Regions from separate parts of the Homo sapiens genome. Here region 1 is linked to region 2. The links are contacts of gene promoters, found by promoter capture Hi-C in human tissues and cell types (Jung and others, 2019). All regions are on one chromosome and are shown on one strand. Each heading gives the region's core, a stretch centred on a gene start or on the middle of the fragment in contact. The rest is flanking DNA. Distances are from core to core; before and after follow the strand shown. Region 1 overlaps RCHY1 (ring finger and CHY zinc finger domain containing 1). Region 2 holds the start of BTC (betacellulin).

What was found. Contacts are between HindIII fragments. The study calls those that stand out against the background at their distance.
Region 1: a contact is called between a fragment that was not itself captured here and the fragment with the promoter of BTC in region 2, in 1 of the 25 tissues and cell types used here (lymphoblastoid cells).

Annotation. Positions count from the first base shown.
Region 1 is chr4:75,501,022-75,505,080 of GRCh38, reverse strand. The region is part of intron 3 of RCHY1 (ring finger and CHY zinc finger domain containing 1); the gene reads left to right. Among named protein-coding and RNA genes, the nearest start is that of RCHY1, 11 kb to the left of the region's middle. The HindIII fragment of the contact is 6,037 bases long and covers 1-4,059 here.
Region 2 is chr4:74,792,268-74,795,777 of GRCh38, reverse strand. It overlaps BTC (betacellulin), which reads left to right and starts at 1,255. Exons shown (of 6, transcript NM_001729.4): 1 at 1,255-1,516. The coding sequence starts at 1,453. The HindIII fragment of the contact is 8,112 bases long and covers 1-3,510 here.

The DNA of each region.
Region 1 (4,059 bases), core at 1,148-3,647, 710 kb before region 2:
CCCCCAACCTCGGTCCATGGAAAAATTGTCTTCCATGAAACCAGTCCCTGGTGCCAGAAAGGTTGGTGACCGCTGCCGTATATACAGTAGGTGCACAGTAATGTGTAGGCAGTATATCTTTGGCAGTGTTTTCAGTATTATGATAACCCTGAATATACTAGAAAAATTAGTCATCGCCATTTACCATTTAAGTATAATGGATTCTTTTTACTTTAAAAAATATTTTAAAGCCCTTTTGTGAATAATGTGCAGACGAAAGAATAAAGGATAGTGAAAATTAACTTCACTGGAAATTTTACTAAGAATTTGAACACTGCAAACCCAAATTTTAATTCCATGTATTCCAAGTTGAAGATAATGTGTGCTCAAATATGTCAGTGTCCTCTGTAACTGCTTTTGACCCTTGAACAATGTTGGGGGTTAAGGGCACCAAGTGCCAGCTCAGTTGAAAATCTGAGTATAACTTTCAACTCCCCACAACTTAACTACTAATAGCCTGCTACTGACTGGAAGTCTTATCAATAACACAAATAGCCAATTAATACATATTTTGTATGTTATATGTATTATATACTATATTCTTAGGATAAACTAGAGAAAAATATTAGGACAATCATAAGGAGAAAATATGTTAACTGTTCATTAAGTGGAAATGGATCATCATAAAGGTCTTCATCCTTCTTCATGTTGAGTAGGCTGAAAAGAGGGAGGAAGAAGAGAGATTGGCTTTGCTATCTCAGGGGTGGCAGAGGTAGAAGAAAATCTGCTTATAAGTAGACCTGTGTACTTCAAATTTGTGTTGTTCAAGGGGTCAACTGTATTTACTTGTCAGTTGTCATGCTTGAATCTGGCACATGTGCATCGTGTAAATAACTGATACTAGATTTTAGATACATTTCTAATAGGTTCTAGCTTGTAATTACTTCTGGTTCTTCTTGTATTTGTATCATCAAAATGCAATACTAATTCCAGATCTCAAATACACCACTGATAAGTCTTGGCTTATCATTACTTCTGTACACATATTACCAAATTCAAATACATTTGAGAACTTTGAGAGTCGTAATTTGGTTGAAGAAAAGACGACCTTTCTTCATAATTGCATGCTCTGTAATTGCAAAACATTTTAATGAATTTTTTTCATTTTTACATCATCTGTTTCCTTTTAAGTACTTTAACATATGTACCTGCCTTCAACGTTTGTCCACTTATGAACCATATTAAGTAAATTTTGGTGTACAAACGTCATAAAAGATGGAAGAATATTATCACACATTCTTTAAGGATGTCCAGGTTTTTGTCATGAAATAATGTAATTTGAAGTCCTTCCTAATAAATGACTAAGTGAGGATACCATATTTTCTTTTTTTTTTTAATTAATTTTTTTTTGAGATGGAGTCCCACTCTGTCACCCAGGCTGGAGTGCAGTGGCGTGATCTCGGCTCACTGCAACCTCTGCCTCCTGGGTTCAAGCAATTCTGCCTCAGCCTCCCTAGTAGCTGGGATTACAGGCACTCGCCACCACAGCCAGCTAATTTTTGTATTTTTAGTAGAGATGAGGTTTCACTTTGTTAGCCAGGATGGTCTTGATCTCCTGACCTCGTGATCCGCCCACCTTGGCCTCCCAAAATGCTGGAATTACAGGTGTGAGCCACTGTGCCTGGCCACCATATTTTCTTTTTGTCCTTAGAAATATATTGTTCATTCCTTTTTTTCAGTGAGACCATTCATATGGTACATCATCTGAAAATCATAATCTGATTTATTGCTTATAGGATTGATTTCACCATCATTATAATTAGAGTCCAGAGCACTGGTTCTCAACTGGGGAGAGTTTTTTCCCAGGTGATATCTGGCAATGCCTGGAGACATTTTCAGCTGTTGTAACCAGGGAGTGAGGGGTAGCAGATGCTAATGACATCTACTGGATAGAGACCAGGGATGCTACTAAACATCCTATAATGTGCAAGACGCTTTCCTGCTACAAAGTATTATCTGGTTCAAAATGTAAATATTGCCTAGGTGGAGAACCTTCAGTCTAGAATGGTTATCTGCCTTTTTGCATTTATTTTCTGCTTTGTCTAAATTTTCCTTTTTTTTTTTCTATTTGTGAAAAATGAAAAATTCTGATTTCTCAACTGTGTTCAAGGAAAACTACAAAGAAGGTATCTGCGGACTCTTTAATGCCTTCTGGAAAGATGATGTAATACTTTGAGCAGTACAGAAAGAAAACCGAAGGATTATGCATTAGTGATTATTTCATGTCATTCTTTCATGTTTCTACATGAAAGGTCTTTCTACCATGCTTTGCATTTTAGTCTTTTTGTTAGGATAGTTGGGAATGATTGATAATGTGAAAGGATTCCTAGGATGCTGAAATACCAAAATTAGGAAAAATAAGATTAAGATTCCATAATGTATCAGATTTATGAAAGGGTTCAATGGACCCATATGATAATTGCAAACAGAATAGAATGAGTTTATTCTATTAAAGAAAAAGTAGATTTTCTTCTTTAGAAGATTTCTTTTCTCTTTTTTTTTGAGACGGAGTCTCACTCTGGCGCCCAGGCTGGAGTGCAGTGGCGCGATCTTGGCTCACTGCAAGCTCTGCCTCCTGGGTTCATGCCTTTTTCCTGCCTCAGCCTCCCAAGTAACTGGGACTACAGGCGCCCGCCACTATGCCTGGCTAATTTTTTGTATTTTTAGTAGAGACGGGGTTTCACCGTGTTAGCCAGCATGGTCTCGATCTCCTGACCTCGTGATCCACCTGCCTTGGCCTCCCAAAGTGCTGGGATTACAGGTGTGAGCCACCGCAGCTGGCCTTCTTTGGAAGATTTCTAAAGAAAGAATAAATGTCACAAAATATTCATCTTTAAAACAGAATTGATTAAAAAAAGAACTAGACCTGGGTACAGAGTGAATATTGTATAAAAAGGCTTTTGCAGTCATAAAAGCTTTGTTAAATGCTGAATTTAATCAAAATCCCTTCTCAGAACTTTTTTTTTTTTGAGACAGAGTTTCACTCTTGTTGCCCAGGCTGTTGTACAATGGCACTGTCTTGGCTCACCGCAACCTCTGCCTCCTGGGTTCAAGTCCTGCCTCAGCCTCCCGAGTAGCTGGCATTACAGGCATGTGCCACCATGCCTGGCTAATTTTGTATTTTTAGTAGAGATGGGGTTTCTCCATGTTGGTCAGGCTGGTCTTGAACTCCCTACCTCAGGTGATCCTCCCACCTTGGCCTCCCAAAGTGCTGGGATTATAGGCGTGAGCCACCGCACTGAGCCTTTTCAGAACTTTTAACTTGTTAATTGTACAGTGCAAATATCCAAGTATATTGAGTTTCTAATAACAGTATTTGATTATAGAATCCTTTTCATGTTCAGTGGAACATAATTAGGAGATGTTTAATGTATAGAATAACAGAATTTTCAAATAGAAAAGTTGTTTTATGTTATTGGGTATTGTAATATGTGACTCACGTTATAGACAAATAATTATGTTCACTTCAAGTAGGCATTTTAGGAGGCATTTTATCTTTTGTCATTGTTCAAAAATATTTGAAATGTTTATTTTCTGCAGTTGCTTTTAATGAGTGCATATGGCATACTGAAAAACTACCCTCGAGGATTTTTGAGTTCTTTTGATTTTTAAAAAATCTGCCAAAAGATATTGGAAGCAAAATCTATTAAGTTTGACAAATACTGTCTTTAGTCAAATGACATATGATCATCAATAATGACTATTATTTTTTAGATAATAAAAATATTAAAAGAGCTGGGCGCAGTGGCTCACGCCTCTAATCCTAGCACTTTGGGAGGCCAAGGCGGGCAGATCACCTGAGGTTGGGAGTTTGAGACCAGCCTGACCAACATGGAGAAACCCTGTCTCTACTAAAAATACAAAATTAGCCAGGCGTGGTGGTATATGTCTGTAATCCCAGCTATTCGGGGGGCTGAGGCAGGAGAATTGCTTGAACCCGTGGGCGGGAGGTTGCAGTGAGCCAAAATCGTGCCATTGCACTCCAGCCTGGGCAACAAGAGCAAAACTCTGTCTAAAAAT
Region 2 (3,510 bases), core at 6-2,505:
GCAGTAAAATAATTTAGTTTTGAAATGAAATGTTATTCGTGGGAGACAAGTGCACAACAATTTACTTAACTTAAACAGTAGGATGAGGAGGAAGAGGCAGACACCCAAACTACATTTCATATGTAAAATAAGGCTTACATGACTTTTGGATGCTATAGAAATAAAATTTCTGTACTGAGGGGCATAATTATCCACATAAATCTTATATGAGGAACACAGACCAGTACAAAAGCAGCTGTATCTTTTGGTTATCTTGGAGGCAATATATAACCACATAAGGTAAAATTGGATGCTGCTTGCTTTCTCTAAAAGCTGTGAGGATGTCTTTCTGTTCCAGAAATTGCTTAATGCAAGTAAATGAAAATATACTGAATACATGAGTAAATTCATAAACAGAAATACAAATGAAATTTCTAAAGTAGGTCCTGGTGAGCCCCAATTTTATGAATTATTAGAAGACAATGCACCCAGAAACTAAGACACTAGCTTGAAGACTTTTTTCATTTCTTTTCTTTTTTTTTTTTTTTTTTTTTGTTGCTGATGTTGTTGTTGTTGTTGTCGTTGTTTTGAAACAGTGTCTCACTCTTGCGCCTTGGCTGGAGTGAAGTGGCTCGATCTAGGCTCATTGAAGGCTCCATCTCCCAAGCTTAAGCGATCCTCCCCACCTCAGCCTCAGGGAATGGATGGGACTGCAGGTGCACACCACCATACCCGGCTATTAATTTACTTTTGTATTTTTTGTAGAGACGAGGTTTCGCTATGGCTTCAAGACTTTAAAAGGCAACAATGACTCTTTTGAAATTGCCTGCATTATCAAATGCCTGAAGTCAACCACAATGAATGGTGAGTCTGGTTTCTCCATGACACTAGCAATCCTCTGAAATAAAGGAAGTTAGAATTCCAGAACACGTTTGGGTCTCTGACTCTTCCTCGGTGGCTTCCAGGAGTTTAGGTCAGCCTGCAGGCCCGACCGGAACCCCCGACACCCCTCCACGCGGATTCTTTACATCTCCCTCCCTACCTTGTTTACGCCCTAGGGGGTAGGGAAATGAACAGTCAGTCAGGTGAGACCCAGCAGGGGGAGTGGTGAGCTGGTCCGAGGGCAGCCCGAATATGTCCCTGGGTGTGGGTATGGGTGTGGGGCAATTTGGGTGGGAGCAGCGTGGAGGCTCCCAGGACCAAGTCCTGCGCCTCTTTGGCGGGGTGTGTGCAGGAGGAGGGGGGATAAATAGGAGGCTCCCTCCTCCCGGCGACATTCACGGAGCCGGCCGGCCTCCCGCCCTGGGTGTTTCCCTGCCTTGTAGCCAGGGTGCCAGCCTGGGAAGTAGTTTCGTTTCCTTCTGCCTCCGGGATTAGTTTCCAGGCACCCTCTCAGGCGCCCGAGGCCCGGGAAGGGGGCGAAGAAGGAGGGAGACTTGTCTAGGGGCTGCCCGGCCCGGCAGAGCGGGGTTGATGGACCGGGCCGCCCGGTGCAGCGGCGCCAGCTCCCTGCCACTGCTCCTGGCCCTTGCCCTGGGTAAGTGGCCGTGCTGGGCACTGGAAACCAGGAGGAAAGTCTGGGGCTGGAGTCGCGGGGAGGGCGAACCCTGAACCGAGCTGGCATCTGGACAAGAGGGCGCGCTGGGGCTGGCAGGCGCGGGTTGGAGAACTTTGAAGGCTGGGAGAGCGCGAGGTTAAAGATCTGGCAATTGGGCACCTGGGGCTGCACCTGCTGGAGGCAGTCCCTAGACGCGTGAGAAGGCCCGAGGGCGGAAGCGATTCCGAGGTCCTCGCTGCCAGTGCTGCGAGCAGGCCGCCAGCTGCTGACTTGTGCGCACAGCAGAGGGCCTGGCGGCGCCGGCGGGCTGTCCACCGGGGTGAGGCGCTGTGCTCGCAAGTGAGGGTCGGGGGGTGGGGGCAGGGGCGAGCAGGGAAACCCACTAAAGAAGCTCACGTGGTAGTATAGACCAAGAAGCATATCCTGCAGGAGGCAGAAGAACGGGAACTCTTTGACTGAAGGTGTGATCACCTGGCGTTAGGGAAGAGTGCCAGCGGGAGGAGGAGTAGCAGGATGCCTAGAGCCCTCCAGAGGGTCTCTCCTGCCTCCTTAGGAGTCAGAACTCACAAAGCAGAGCTGGAACTTCAGATGTGGCTGGAAGCAGGCTTCCCCTTCCCCTCCACCGAGGGAAGGTAGTGAGAAGGCTTCTAAGTAGGAAAAAATCCCAACTCTTCAAAGCTTGCTCTCTGCATCATGGTCATTTTGCGGGGCAGAGAAGGGAAGGGAAACCAGTAACATTTTCTAATCTTAGCTGGGCTGTAGACACATCTGGGTTTGGAGCATTTATGTGGTAGGAGGAGAGTCTCCACAGCTGAAGTGTCACCACGATATCACTCCTACCTTCAAGCCTGGGAAGGGGACACCACAAATGAAAAAGAATGGGAATTCCTCTTATTGAGGAAAGAGAGGGGGAGCCTAAATGAAAACTTTCATTTGACTGTGTCCTTGGAGTAAGAGAGGTGGCTAAAAAGGTACAGTGAACTTGCTTGGAGGTGGATCAGACTTAGGACCAAGGTTAGAGAAAATAAACTTATTTAACAAACGCTGAAGAGGAAGGAGTCAGTAACAATTTAGTGGTAGAGTGAATGTGTACATTCATGAAGAAGAGCAATGGGGTTGAGACTTAACCCTAGAAATAGTACTGATGCTTTTGCCAGCATTGCTTGCAAGTAGCTGACATTCTCTTCCTCCACCGTGTCTAAACTATCCAACAGTCAAAGTATTCCCTGAGAATCTGTCGTAGTCAGCAAGGTGCTGAGGTATGTAGCAATGGAGGTGGGGAAAGGGCTCATGAGATTCCTAAAATAAAACATGATTCCTGCCCTAGAACTTGCACTGAATTTGGATATGCAAGCCCAGCAGGGTAACCTGTGGAAAAATTCACGGAATCAGAAAAGGGAGAAAGAGCTCAACAGCGGGGGCTGGAATAGTGGGGAAAGGCTGAATGGAGGACACGAATGCGTGCCTTGAGGCTTGGGTAGAGTTTGCAATAGTAGAGAGGAAAGAGGGAACAGAGACAAGGGAAAAAGCATTTAGTAAAGGGTTGGCGATGCGAATGAGCATGCTTTACTGGAAAGAGTAGAATTTCTGAGAGGCAGACAGATTATGAAGAACTGAAAAAGCCAGATTAGAATATTTGGAACAGAATCAATAAGCTATTAAACACACACCATCACAGGGCTTGACTGGGAGTGATATGATGCAAACAATGGTTTAAAGGTGATAAATCTGTCAGTGAGGTGCAGTATAGGAAGGGGGGGCGCCTGTGGGCCAGAGGACCTGATTGTCTCGTAGGTATAATCTGGGCATGAGCTACTTGGGGCCTAAATTAGGGTGATGTTTTAGCAGAGGTGTCATAGTAGAAATGACTATTGAAAGTCGATGGACATTCTTTCCCCTTTACTATCACAAAACTTGTCAAAAGACAGAAATGAAAATCAAAAAGCAAAACTCGAATCCAGTGCTATTGTACA